2 separate regions of the Homo sapiens genome follow, and region 2 is linked to region 1. Evidence: promoter capture Hi-C in 16 types of primary human blood cells and fetal thymus (Javierre and others, 2016). All regions are on one chromosome and are shown on one strand. The core of a region is centred on a gene start or on the middle of the fragment in contact, and the rest is flanking DNA. Distances in the headings are between cores, read along the strand shown.

Region 1 (6,298 bases), core at 1,216-3,715:
CAGATCTCTTTGTCTCAGTTACAATGTTGCAATGACAATTTCAATATCATTTCATCTATTTTATATATGTTATCTGCTATTTAACACCTTATTATGGACCAGGTGCCTTGGCTCACTCCTGTAATCCCAGCACTTTGGGAGGCCGATGTGGGAGGATCACATGAGGTTAATTCTTGACAAACCTGGCCAACTTGGTGAAACCCCATCTCTACTAAAAATATAAAAATTAGCTGGACCGGGCCTGGTGGTGCACGCCTGTAATCCCAGCTACTGGGGAGGCTGAGGTAGGAAAATCTCTTGAACCTGGGAGGCGGAGGTTGTAGTGAGCCAAGATCATGCCACTACACTCCAGCCTGGTGACAGAGCGAGACTCCATCTCAAAAATAAAAACAAAAATAAATTATGATGCCATCATTACTTTTATAACAAATAGTATTTCTTTTTTAAAAATTTAATATGATCCATTTTGGTTGACATATTTCTTCAACATTGATTTTTATTTACTGCAAACAACACTGGTTGAGAATTTACAATGTACCAGATGCTGGTCTGTGCATTGGAAATACACCCAGAGAACAAAACACAAAATTTTTGCTTTCATGGAATTTACATTTGAGTCTGGAATAGACAGAAAATAAACTAGATATGTTTATGTAATATGTTAGATGGTGAGAAGGAAAAAAAAATAGAGCAAGACTAAGGAGTGTCATGGGAAGCTGAAATTTAGATAAGGCAACCAATGAAGACCCCACTAAGAAGATAATATTTCAGCAAAGAGCTGAAAGGTGAGGAAGCAACCTGTGCGGATGTGTTCAGGGAGAAAAGGAGGGAGACTCCTGAGGCACCATGGTGACTATGGGGAATGAGCAGGGGACAGTAGGAAATGAAGGTGGAGAAAGGGCAGAATAATTTTCCCTTCAATTCCCACCTCACACAGGTTCTTAGTTGAAACAAACCCATGTAACAAAAGACAGATTCACAAATGAAAAACAAGCAGAAGTGTATTAACATATATATTACATATACATGAATGACACCTAGGGAATGAGTACACATTGAGGTGGCTTTGAATTCCAGCTTTTGTGTAGTGTCTTCAACAAAGAACAGTGAATTTTTAGATAATTTAGAAGACGAAGGAGAAGTACTTTGAGTGTCCAGGGGCGGCAATGTTGGGGAAAGCAAACATAGATAAAGGGTAGTTAGTAAAGCTTGCTTTATAGAATCTTCTGGTGCATCACCAGGCCCATAAGAGTGAAAGCTCTTTTCTGTACTTCTTTTGTTCTCCCCAATAGTGTAAACCAAAAAGTGACCGAGCAGATCTCCACTGATTCACAGGTTTATTTTTGCCAAGGTTGAAGATGCATCTAGGAGAAAGAAACACAAGTTACACAAAGTCTATGGCCTGTGAGGCCCAGGTGGGCAGATCACTTGAGGTCAGGAGTTCGAGACCAGTTTGGCCAACATGGCGAAACTCCATCTCTACTTAAAAAATACCAAAAAATTAGCCATGCATGGTTGCACGTACCTGTAGTCCCAGCTGCTCTGAAGGCTGAGGCATGAGAATCGTTTGTACCTGGGAGGTGGAGGTTGCAGTGAGCCGAGATCATACCACTGCCCTCCAGTCTGGGCGACAGAGTGAGACTCTGTCTCAAAAAAAAAAAAAAAAAAGAGTTTAGTATATTCTTATATAAAAAAGACGTAGAAAAGTTAAAATGGATAAAGGGAATGACTGCCAGAGGACAGGAGGGAATGTGGTAGACAGCTGTAATTTTAAAAATGGTGGATGGGGAAGAACTCACAACTGAGATAAGACTGGGAAAAGAAAATAACTTTTTTTTTTTTTTGTACAGACGAGGCTTCACTATGTTGCTCAGGCAAGTCTCAAACTCTTGTGCTCAAGGGATCCTCTCACTTTGGCCTCCAAAAGTGCTGGGGCTACCAGACCTGAGCTACCACACCAGGCCAAGAAAATAACTTTCATCTGAGGAATGGGAGTCATTTTAAATTATCAGGCCCACAGTAACATTAAAATGAGACAGCAATCACAACCTACTCCCCTCTTTGAGCTATGTATTCATCTCTAGATACTGCTTGTTATTGTTATAAGTAGCTATAAGTTTATCTAATAATGCCACATCCCACACTGTAACCCACACCCTGTAGCTTTACAATGTATAGCCAATAACTAATTAATGCTATTTCTGTAAACCAAGGAAAATTCCTGACAAAAAATTTTGTATCAGCCCACCTTCTGTCCCCCCTTTTTTGCCTTTAAAAACCTATTTTTAACAAAGGCCAGTGGAGCTCATATCCAAGATTACTTGGGCCTGAGATTTCTGAGCTGCTGTGCTGACTTTGGCTCAAGTAAATTCTTTTTTTTTTTTTTTTTTTTGAGACAGAGTCTTGCTCTGTCACCCAGGCTGGTGTGATCTTGGCTCACTGGGTTAACGCCATTCTCCTGCCTCAGCCTCCACAGTAGCTGGGACTACAGTGCCCGCCACCATGCCCGGCTAATTTTTTGGTATTTTTAGTAGAGACAGGGTTTCACCATGTTAGCCAGGATGAGTCTCCATCTCCTGACCTTGTGATCCTCCCGCCTCGGCCTCCCAAAGTGCTGGGATTACAGGCATGAGCCACCGTTCCTGGCGCCAATTCTTTTTTTTTTTTGAGACGGAGTCTTGCTCTGTCACCCAGGCTGGTGTGCAGTGGTGCGATCTCGGCTCACTGCCACCTCTGCCTCCTGGGTTCAAGTGATTCTCCTGCCTTAGCCTCCTGAGTAGCTGGGACTACAGGCGCATGCCCCCATACCTGGCTAATTTTTGTATTTTTAGTAGAGACGGGGTTTCACCATGTTGGCCAGAATGGTCTCCATCTCCTGACCTCGTGATCCACCCTCCTTGGCCTCCCAAAGTGCTGGGATTACAGGCGTTAGCCACCGCGCCCGGCCATAAATTCTTTAAGTTATGATTTGTGCCTCTGCATCTTTCTTTTAGGCCAACAAGGCTGAAGGAAATCAACTATTTCATCCCCAAGTATACTTCTTTGACATATTTTGAGATGGCTCTTTGGAGGGTCTGCAAACAGAAGTTGCCCTGCAGAGCTGCCTTTTGTGGAGATGTGCATCTGTAGAGAAAACCTGCTTTGGTGCTGCCAGGGTTTTTTTCTGAGGCTTTACCTTGTCCAATCTAGGAAAGATTAAGTGTCTGACACCAGGCTGGGCGCAGTGGCTCACGCCTGTAATCCCAGCATTTTGGGAGGCCGAGGCAGGCAGATTTGAGGTCAGGAGTTAGAGACCAGCCTGGGCCAATGTAGCGAAACCCCGTCTCTACTAAACACACAAAAATTAGCTGGGCATGGTGGTGGGCGTCTGTAATCCCCGCTAGTCAGGCGGCTGAGGCAGGAGAATTGCTTGAACCCAGGAGGCGGAGGTTGCAGTGAGCCGAGATTGTGCCATTGCACTCCAGCCTGTGCAACAGCGCGAGACTCCCTCTCAAAAAAAAAAAAAAAATCTGAGTCTGACACCTTTAAAGGTCTGAAAGAAACATTTACTATATATGTATTCTTCTTGAGGGCTGTTACCTATGAGTTTTCATCTACATAACAAGACCACCTTTGTTAGCAAAGCCCTCCCATAACCTGTCTTGCATGATTGACCACCCTAACCTGTTTTTGGCCATGCTCTGAGTCCCCATTCTTTAACCTAAAGATGGCATTTAAGCTTCTGTACCCCCTGCTGGGGTTGGGGTAATTACTCTGTGGTTCTCCCTCCTGCATGTTAATAAACTTGTGTGCCTTTCTCTCCTATTAATCTGTTTTTTGGTAATTGATTTTTGAGAAAAACTTCAGAGGGTGAAGGCGAAGATTTTTCTTGGTCCTGACAAGACTGAGCAGAGAAGAGAGTGAGTTCTTTATACAGCTGTAGGAAGATCATACCAGAGAGAAGAAACATTGATTCATGGATCCTGAGTTGGGTGCATATTTGGGCTATGGACATTGTTCTGATAGCCAACTACATAAAACCAGGGCCTTTGTTTTTCTTAAGCTGGAATTTCCAGGTAACTCAGTACTGATTTATACTTTTTTTTTTTGAGACGGAGTTTCGTTCTTGTTGCCCAGGCTGGAGTGCAATGGCACGATCTCGGCTCTCTGCAACCTCCGCCTCCCGGGTTCAAGTGATTCTCCTGCCTCAGCCTCCTGAGTAGCTGGGATTACAGGCATGTGCCACAATGTCCAGCTAATTTTTGTATCTTTAGTAGAGATGGGGTTTTGCCATGTTAGTCAGGCTTGTTTCCAACTCCTGACCTCAGGTGATCCACCCACCTTGGCCTCCCAAAGTGCTGGGATTACAGGAGTGAGCCACCGCGCCCTGCCTTCTTTTTTTTTTTTTTTTTTTTTTGAGACAGAGTCTCACTCTGTTGCCCAGGCTGGAGTGCAGTGGCAGGATCTCGGCTCACTGTAACCTCCGCCTCCCAGGTTCAAGCACTTCTCCCTGCCTCAGCCTCCCAAGTAGCTGGGAATACAGGTGCCTGCACGCCTGGCTAAGTTTTGTATTTTTTTTTTTAGTAGAGATGTGGTTTCGCCATGTTGGCCAGGTTGGTCTTGAACTCCTGACCTCAGGTGATCTCCCCACCTTGGCCTCCCAACGTGCTGGGATTACAGGCATGAGCCACTGAACCCGGCCTGATTCATACATTTTAATTTTTCAAACGTGTTGCTCCAGATACCCAAGGACATTCAGTTAAGACAGTGAATCAAGAGGCAGGGGCAGGAAAAGATAAGCAATGAGTGCTAACCCCATGGAAGACTGCTCGCCTTATTCAAGGATACCAGTAGTTAAGGAAAGAGTATTATTATATGATAATTTATTTAAAATAAAAAATAAGAGATCTGCAAAATTGCTATCATTTTACTTTTCACATGAAAGAAACCAATGTAATCTTTACAAGGCTTTATATGCTGTAACATTTTCTGAGATTTCATTATACTAGATATCTACGGATGAGCTCCAAAGTACAAAGAAAACTGCTCCTACTAGCAACAGAACTCCACATTAAAATTTCTATAATGGTTATAATGTGATGGCCGAATCCATAATAAAACAAAATTAAATTATGATGAAGATGATACATGTTCCCAGCTACTGATTTTGAGCCCTAGATAAACCTTGACAAAAAATTGAGAGATCACATTTCTTCTTAATCCTTCATATTGAGTGAGACTATTGTCCGATATGAGATCCAGGGATTTTATTTATGATTATAACTGTCAAAAATGGACTATCAATTACTTTCACTTTTTTGGTTAAGTGCAGTTAGAGGAAAAAAGACATATCTGGTGTCTTACAAAATTTACCCAGATTATTCTACGAGACTTTTGGGGAGCAATGTCAATATTATAGAGTCTCTGTTTTCTCCTTGAGCTTTTCTTTTCTTATTTTTCTTTTCTCTTTTCTTTTCCTTTTCTTTTTCTTTTTTTTTTCTTTGAGACAGTCTTGCTCTGTTATCCAGGCTGGACTGCAGTGGCATGATCCTAGCTCACTGAAGTCTCAAACTCCTTGCCTCAAGCAATCTTCCCACCTCTCTCTCCCAAAGTGTTGGATTACAGGCATGAGCCATCACCCCCGGCCGCCTTACTGATTTTATTTAATTTTTTTTTCTTTAAATATAGAGATGAGGTCTCGTTATATTACCCAGGCTGGTCTTGAACTCCTGGGCTCAAGTGATCCTCCTGCCTCAGCATCCCAAAGTGCTGCAATTATAGATGTGAGTCACCGCATCCAACCCTCCTTATGCTTTTCTAATGGAGGACCCAAGAGGCAACATATCCAATGAAACTACCTCATCCTTATGGTCACATCCACATTTGAAAGATCACTAGGCTGTGGACAGAAGTTCTACTGCTGATAGATGTGAATATAGCTTCCTCTCCTCTGGTTAACTCTTAAGAAGTCCACATTTTGCTTTGTTTCTCTCCATGAAATCTTATGTTTCTTTTACAGATGAAGTGTTTTGACCTGAAGATTCATCCAGCAACAAGTGAATGCATTTCCTTTTAGAAATTAAGAATCTAGACCCTTCTTTGGTGCAGAGCATACTAGTTAAGATAAATACAAGTTTATTTTCTGCGGATATGAGGTTCAAAAAGGGTATTCTAGATCAGCAGGTCCCTCTTTCTTCTAGCAGTGGTTCTGGAACCTAGATGCCCTCTGTCTTTGTGGCTTAGCCATCCTAAATGTGGCTTCTACATTTGCCCTGCAAGGGGAAAGAACATGGAAAAATCCTTCGTGGAAAGTTATTAT
Region 2 (6,298 bases), core at 1,211-3,710, 230 kb before region 1:
TAAGCCAGCCTTAAAGTGTGTGGTATGCTCACCACAGCCATAAGATGTGTAATGGTGAGAAATACAATTTAAATGTACAATTCAGGGACTCGATGAAGTAAATTATGGTGTACTTGTATAAAAGAATGTTATATAACTCTTATATGTATTTAATTATTTCATGAAGAAATGCTTACCCTATTATTGAAAAAGGGCTGGAGATAATTGAAATAAAGTTCTACAATAAAGACATTGCACTGTTCTCTCCATGTTCAACTCAAAACCCTTTCTCACTGATTTCCTACTGTAGGACCTTCAGTACCTTCTAGCTGTGGAGTCCTAATCAGGGGAAAACAAAGAGATAAGGCAGATAAGCTGCAAGTCTGCCTTTCTTCATGGTCCAGTACACAGCCCTCCTGTGCAAATAACTCACAGTCATCCTTCCTGTGTCCAACTATCACCAAACACCTGCAAGTTAGCTCACTGCAACCTTTGCCTTATAGATACTGCACAAAGCCATCTTCAACAGACAGCATAAAAACTATTCTATAAATTATCCAGCAAGCCTTTGTTTCCTGGCAGTCAGCTTCTCTTTTGCTGATCCTGCCTTTTGCCTCCTCGAAAAGTATTTTCATACTTTTAAAAGTAAATCTGCCTTTCTTTACAACTGTCTTGGTAAATTCTTTTACCCCCCCTCGCCTCCCGCCCAGATAGTCGTCCCTCCCCGGCGACATCAACCTAAAAGAGATTTTGAGAATGAATCTGATGGTTTCCAAAGTAACTGATCCATACGAAAGTGTATACAGCAGGGGAGTCGTCGGAGAAAGTCAAAACCCGTCTACTCACCAGCCACCTTCAGATGCACCAGGGCTTCTTCGTAGCTTCCATCCTCCCTGAAAAAGCACGTGTACTCCCCGTCGTCAGAGACTCTGACGCCACGGATCCTCAAGGCCACGCGCCCCTTGGCGATGCCGTCCTGGACCAGCGTCGCCCGCCCGCGGTACTCGGGCATCTGCTCGGCTTCCTGCTCGCGCCCGTCCCTATGCACCAGCACGGCCGGCGAAACCTTCTTTCGGAACCAGCGTAGCTCCAAGTGCTCGGCGCTCGCGTTCGGAGACAGGCGACAGGGCAGCTCGGCGTCCTCACCCACAACGGCCAGGATGGGCTCCGGGGGTCCAATCACGTCAAAGGGAGCTGCCGAAAAACGAGCGGGATCAGACGGGATGTGGAGATGGGAACTACGGACAGACACCGACCAGATTCCCGCCAAAGCGCAGTGCCCCGCGCTCTCTTACTCCTTTGACAGCTGAGTTTGTCTGGATCCAGTGGAGGTCTCCAGGGAGAGCCAAGTGGGATTGTTTATTTTACATTTATTGATATATTTCAACTATGCAGCCCAGAGAGAGAGAGAGACTTACCTGAATCCAGTTTGGGCAGCTGGAGGAGAATGAGGGTGAGCAGACATCTGGGGAGACCGGAGCTTGGGAAAACTGCCATCTCCCACCCTTCTGGAGCAGCAAGATAACTGATGTGAGTCCCCTCAGGAGCTTCAGCCTAGGAGATGAATGGACAGGAGACAACTACCGGCTCTGTCAACCCTCCGCTTTCCAAAGTCCTCTCTACAGTTCTTTCCAGCTGCAAGTGTTCTGGTCATTTGCCCCTGAAACCTCCTCTCAGCCTCCATCCCCAGTATGGATTTTTAGTTTACACTGTGGTTATCACCTTCCCACCCACTACTCTAACTCTAAAACTTAGGAGAAGGGAACTGTGAGGCATAACACTCATTAGTTGGTTGCATATCGATGAACAAATCTTGGAATCACTGCACTAAAAAAAAAGTCTCCTTTTTATTTATTTATTTATTTATTTTTGAGACAGTCTTGCTCTGTTGCCCAGCTTGGAGTGCAGTGGCATGATCTCGGCTCAATGCAACCTCAGCCTCCTGGGTTCAAGCGATTGTTCTGCCTCAGCCTCCGGAGTAGCTGGGACTACAGGCGCGCACCACCATGCCCCGCTATTTTTTGTATTTTCAGTAGAGACGGAGTTTCACCACGTTGGCCAGGCTGGCCTCGAACTCCTGACCTCGTGATCCACCCGCCTTGGCCTCCCAAAGTGCTGGGATTACAGGCGTGAGCCACCGTGCCTGGCCAAAGTCTTTTTTCAAATACAAGAATTTGGTATTTGCTTTTGGCAATGATAATAAAGATAAGGGTATAAAGGCAGAAATGGAGTCCAAGGAAATGAATTGGAGAAGAGAGAAAAGATGGGAGGAGATGGAGCAAGAAGCAGGAGCTGAAGCAAGCAAAAGGGCTTGAAGAGTAGAGGGCCTAGGACCAAGGAGAAAGGAGCTGGAGGGAGAGAAGTATGCTATGCCCCTCTGGCTGCTCACTCCCTCAGGGAGCTGAGAGTAACCACACATACTGACCTGGGTGATCTTGGAGAAAAAGGCACAAGAGGCCACTGCTACCAAGTGAGAAAGCTGGCTGTGGCCCCCGGGGCAAAAGTTAAAAGCCAGCAGGAAAAGGAAGCGGGAGGTGCTCTCAGGAAAGCCTGCCTCCAGGTGGCCTGGTATATTCACTCTGAGGAAAAAAAAAAGGGAGATGAAAAGTTTTTCAGAGAGATGGAAAACTGGATTTGTGGTCTTCAGCTCAGAAATCAAGATATGCATTGATGAGCTGGACCAAATGAAAGGCAGAAAAGAGAAAAAGAGAAGAGAGGCAAGGAAACACACAAATGAGATGTGATGGCTTCAGCCAGTTATTTCCTCTTTCCAAGCCTCAGTTCTTTGATCTCTAAAATGGTAATAATATTGATCATACCTTTCTTGAAGAGGTGTTGGGAGGATTAAGTGAGATTAAGCAGGTAAAGTGCTTAGCACATAGTAGGAACTCAGCGGAGGATAAATTGTTATTCTATTATTATTTCTGCGGGTTGAAAAATGAAAGCCCAGAGGCCAAGGTAGCAGTAGCCTCTGTCTATAGCCATCTTCGTTATTGGAGCGTCCGTCCACCTTAGGTGCTGTGTCTGTTGGAACAACTCCATTAAAGGCCAGTCTTAAGGGTAGGCTGTGAATTCTGTTTACAGGGCCCAAAAGTTGCCTCCCTGACAATTATTTCTTTTGAAGCAACTCATCATGAGGCCTACAATTCCTTAATTTATACTAAACCTACCTCTCATTGTTATGAAAAAATTTAAAAATACAGAAAAATATTTTTATAAAATGGAGGTCACACTTAATCTACTAACTAATGATAGCCTCAATTCACATTTTGGCATAGTCCTTCCAAGATTTATTTTATGCTTATGTATATCATAAAAGCAATCAATTAGACTTTTTGTGTAACTCAAAATATTGTTAATAGTTGTATAATTGCCATGATTGTGGGACATTTGGGATTTTTTTCCTATTGTAAATAATACACTTTATATATAAGTCTTTATTTGCAAATTGGATAATGTCCTGATAAACTGTTTAATAAATTTCCAGAAATAGAGTCATCAGATCAAATGGTATAAGCATATTTCTTTTCTTTTCTTTTTTTTTTTGAGACGGAATCTCACTCTGTCGCCTAGGCTGGAGTGCAGTGGCGTAATCTTGGCTCACTGCAACCTCCGCCTCCAGGGTTCAAAGGATTTTCCTCTTGCCTCAGCCTCCTGAGTAGCTGAGATTACAGGCACGTGCCACCATGCCCAACTAATTTTTGTATTTTAGTGGAGACAGGGTTTCACCATGTTGGCCAGGCTGGTCTCGAACTCCTGAGCTTCAATGATCTGCTTGCCTTGGTCTCCCAAAGTGCTGGGATTACAGGTGTGAGCCACCATGCCCGACCTAGTATCAGCATATTTCTACAGTCCCTTCCTGAAATGTTGAATCCATCACACCCTCAATGGAGGTGCCCTCACCTAATCCCTGCTAGCACTGAGAAGTTATTATTTCACATCCTTACTATTGGGATGGGTCAAGTTAATTAAATTATTATTTATTGTGCCTTTATATGTTAGCGAGGCTGGAGTTTTTTATGTGTTAATTAGACATTTAATACATTCTAGAAATGAGCTGTTCAGGCCAGTTGCCCATTGTTTTCAAGACTGGTCCTGGTGCTAGTTCTTAGCAATCTGTGTGAATTTTAATAACTTAAAAATATCAATCCTGTATTATATTTGTAACAAACATTCTTCCCAGTTTTGTTATTTATCTTTGAGTTGGAATTGTGATTAAGACAAAAGACAGTTGCTCCATTTCACCCACCAGACTGCCAAGAGAATGATCTTTCCCAAATGCAAATCTGATCATATCACTTTTTGCTTAAAAATCCTTCCACATCTCCCTAGTGACTTCAGCATCAAGTTTATGCACCTTAATCTGGTTAGGAAAATACTGTAGGTCTAGCTTGATCTGGTCAAGAAAATACTCTGGCAGTCTCCTTGCTTCTTTCCTGAGGGCTTTTTCTCCATTCCCCTTCTCCTTCCCTGCTTGTCCACCCACAGGCTGAATTTGGAGTGGGTGTGGTTACCTCAACCCACAATGCCTCTCAGGCCTCCAGATAGCAGTGCTTGCCTTCCCCCTTCCAGAATATTCTGTCTCTTCTTAACTTTTTTTTTTTTTTTTTTTTGAGATGGAGTCTCACTTTGTCACCCAGGCTGGAGGGCAGTGGCACAATTTCAGCTCACTGCAACCTCTGACTCCCAGGTTCAAGCATTTCTCCTGCCTTAGCCTCCCAAGTAGCTGGGACTACAGGCGTGCCCCACCACGCCTGGCTTTGTTGGTATTTTTGGTAGAGGTGGGGTTTCCCAATGTTGGCCAGGCTGGTTTTGAACTCCTGACCTCAAGTGATACACCCGCCTCGGTCTCCCAAAGTGCTGGGATTATAGGTGTGAGCCACCGCGACTAGCCTGTTCCCTCTTATCTTTATGATGAACTCCTATTCTTCCCTCAAAAGCTCATGTAAGGGCTGCACCTTCTGCAATGTCTTTCAGACATTGCATCAAGCAGATGCAACCTCACTTCTAGGGCTTCTCCTGATTAGCCTTTGTCCCCTCCAAGAGAAGTAGGCTTTCCTGGAAGATGGGCCAGGTGTATCCTGTGACACTTGGTCCCTTTCTCATGGCAGACACCTGATCTGAGCCCTAGTTTCAGAAGCAGATGTGTTTATTGTCATCTTTTGTTTCCAAGCTTGTCTTCCCCTCTTAAACTGAGCTTTCCTAGTTCTTACTCCCTGTCTTCTCATCAGCACATAGACTGAAATAGAATTTGTGGCTTCATTCAAACCCATCGTTCCTTAGCCTTCCTAGTTTGAAAGGCTCCTGTCCCATTTTCCTCTTCATGCTTAACTTTCTGATCATATCACCTATAATCTATTTCCCCTTCCTCATTTCACTTCTCTTATCAGCCCCTTTCAATGATACTTTTGTCTCATGCTTCATATTCTCATAAGACATTGTTTTCAGGGGGGAAAAAGAGCTTTTACTTGCAACTAACGGAGCCATACTGAAAAGAAAGGGTCTGGGGGAAAGAAGAAGAAAGTACTTGGAGCTCAAGCTATTGCATAACAGACACTATTTTGATTGGATAGCATCTGGGTCTTTTTGACAGAAACCAAGTCATCAGTCTTACACAATGAAAGACAGGATCTCTAAATTTCCCAAGGTTTAGAGAACAGAACCTCTAGGATGCCCCTAGGATGCCCCTGCCTGTCATGGTTCCTGAATGGGAGAGGCCTTGTGAAGTGGTGCTGCTCTTAGGAAGTTCCTGCTCTTCCCAGGCCCACTGCGAGATAGAAACAAAAACTTCTTCTTCTTAGACATGAAATCATTTGGGCTGAGGAATATGATATGCTTCATATGGAACCTAATGATAAAATGTCAGCATTTGTTTCCCCTCCCTGCTTTTCACTATAATCTGTTCAAATTTCTCAGTGTTATCCTCATGTCAAATTCAATGGTTACTCTCGTTCTCATCTTACTTGACTTTCATCACTGAGGCAACCATTTGAGTCTATTTATTTATTTTGAGACGGAGTCTTACTCTGTCGCCCAGGCTGGAGTGCAGTGGCACAATCTCGGCTTACTACAACCTCCTGGGTTAAAGCGATTCTCGTGCCTCAGCCTCCCAAGTAGCTGGGATTATAGACATGCACCACCATGCCTGGCTAATTTTTGTACTTTTAGTAGAGATGGGGTTTCACCGTGTTGGCCAGGCTGGTCTTGAATTCCTGACCTCAAGTGATCTGGCTGCCTTGACCTCCCAAACTGCTGGGAATACAGGTGTGAGCCACCACGCCCAGTCAACGTCTTTTCTTTTTAAATGTGGTTCAGTTGT

Evidence for each region. The method cuts DNA at HindIII sites, captures the fragments that hold promoters and counts their contacts. A CHiCAGO score of 5 or more calls a contact.
Region 2: the fragment with the promoter of BTN1A1 here is called in contact with a fragment that was not itself captured in region 1 in 1 of 17 cell types (megakaryocytes); the score reaches 5.8 in megakaryocytes.

What each region holds. Positions count from the first base shown.
Region 1 is chr6:26,262,151-26,268,448 of GRCh38, reverse strand. No RefSeq gene overlaps it. Among named protein-coding and RNA genes, the nearest start is that of H3C8, 6.1 kb to the left of the region's middle. The HindIII fragment of the contact is 2,510 bases long and covers 1,211-3,720 here.
Region 2 is chr6:26,496,465-26,502,762 of GRCh38, reverse strand. BTN1A1 (butyrophilin subfamily 1 member A1) reads right to left here and starts at 2,460. Exons shown (of 8, transcript NM_001732.3): 1 at 2,405-2,460; 2 at 1,398-1,533; 3 at 826-1,173. The coding sequence starts at 1,476. The region is part of intron 1 of LOC107986583 (a long non-coding RNA gene); the gene reads left to right. RefSeq lists an enhancer at 1,042-1,171. The HindIII fragment of the contact is 5,298 bases long and covers 1-5,154 here.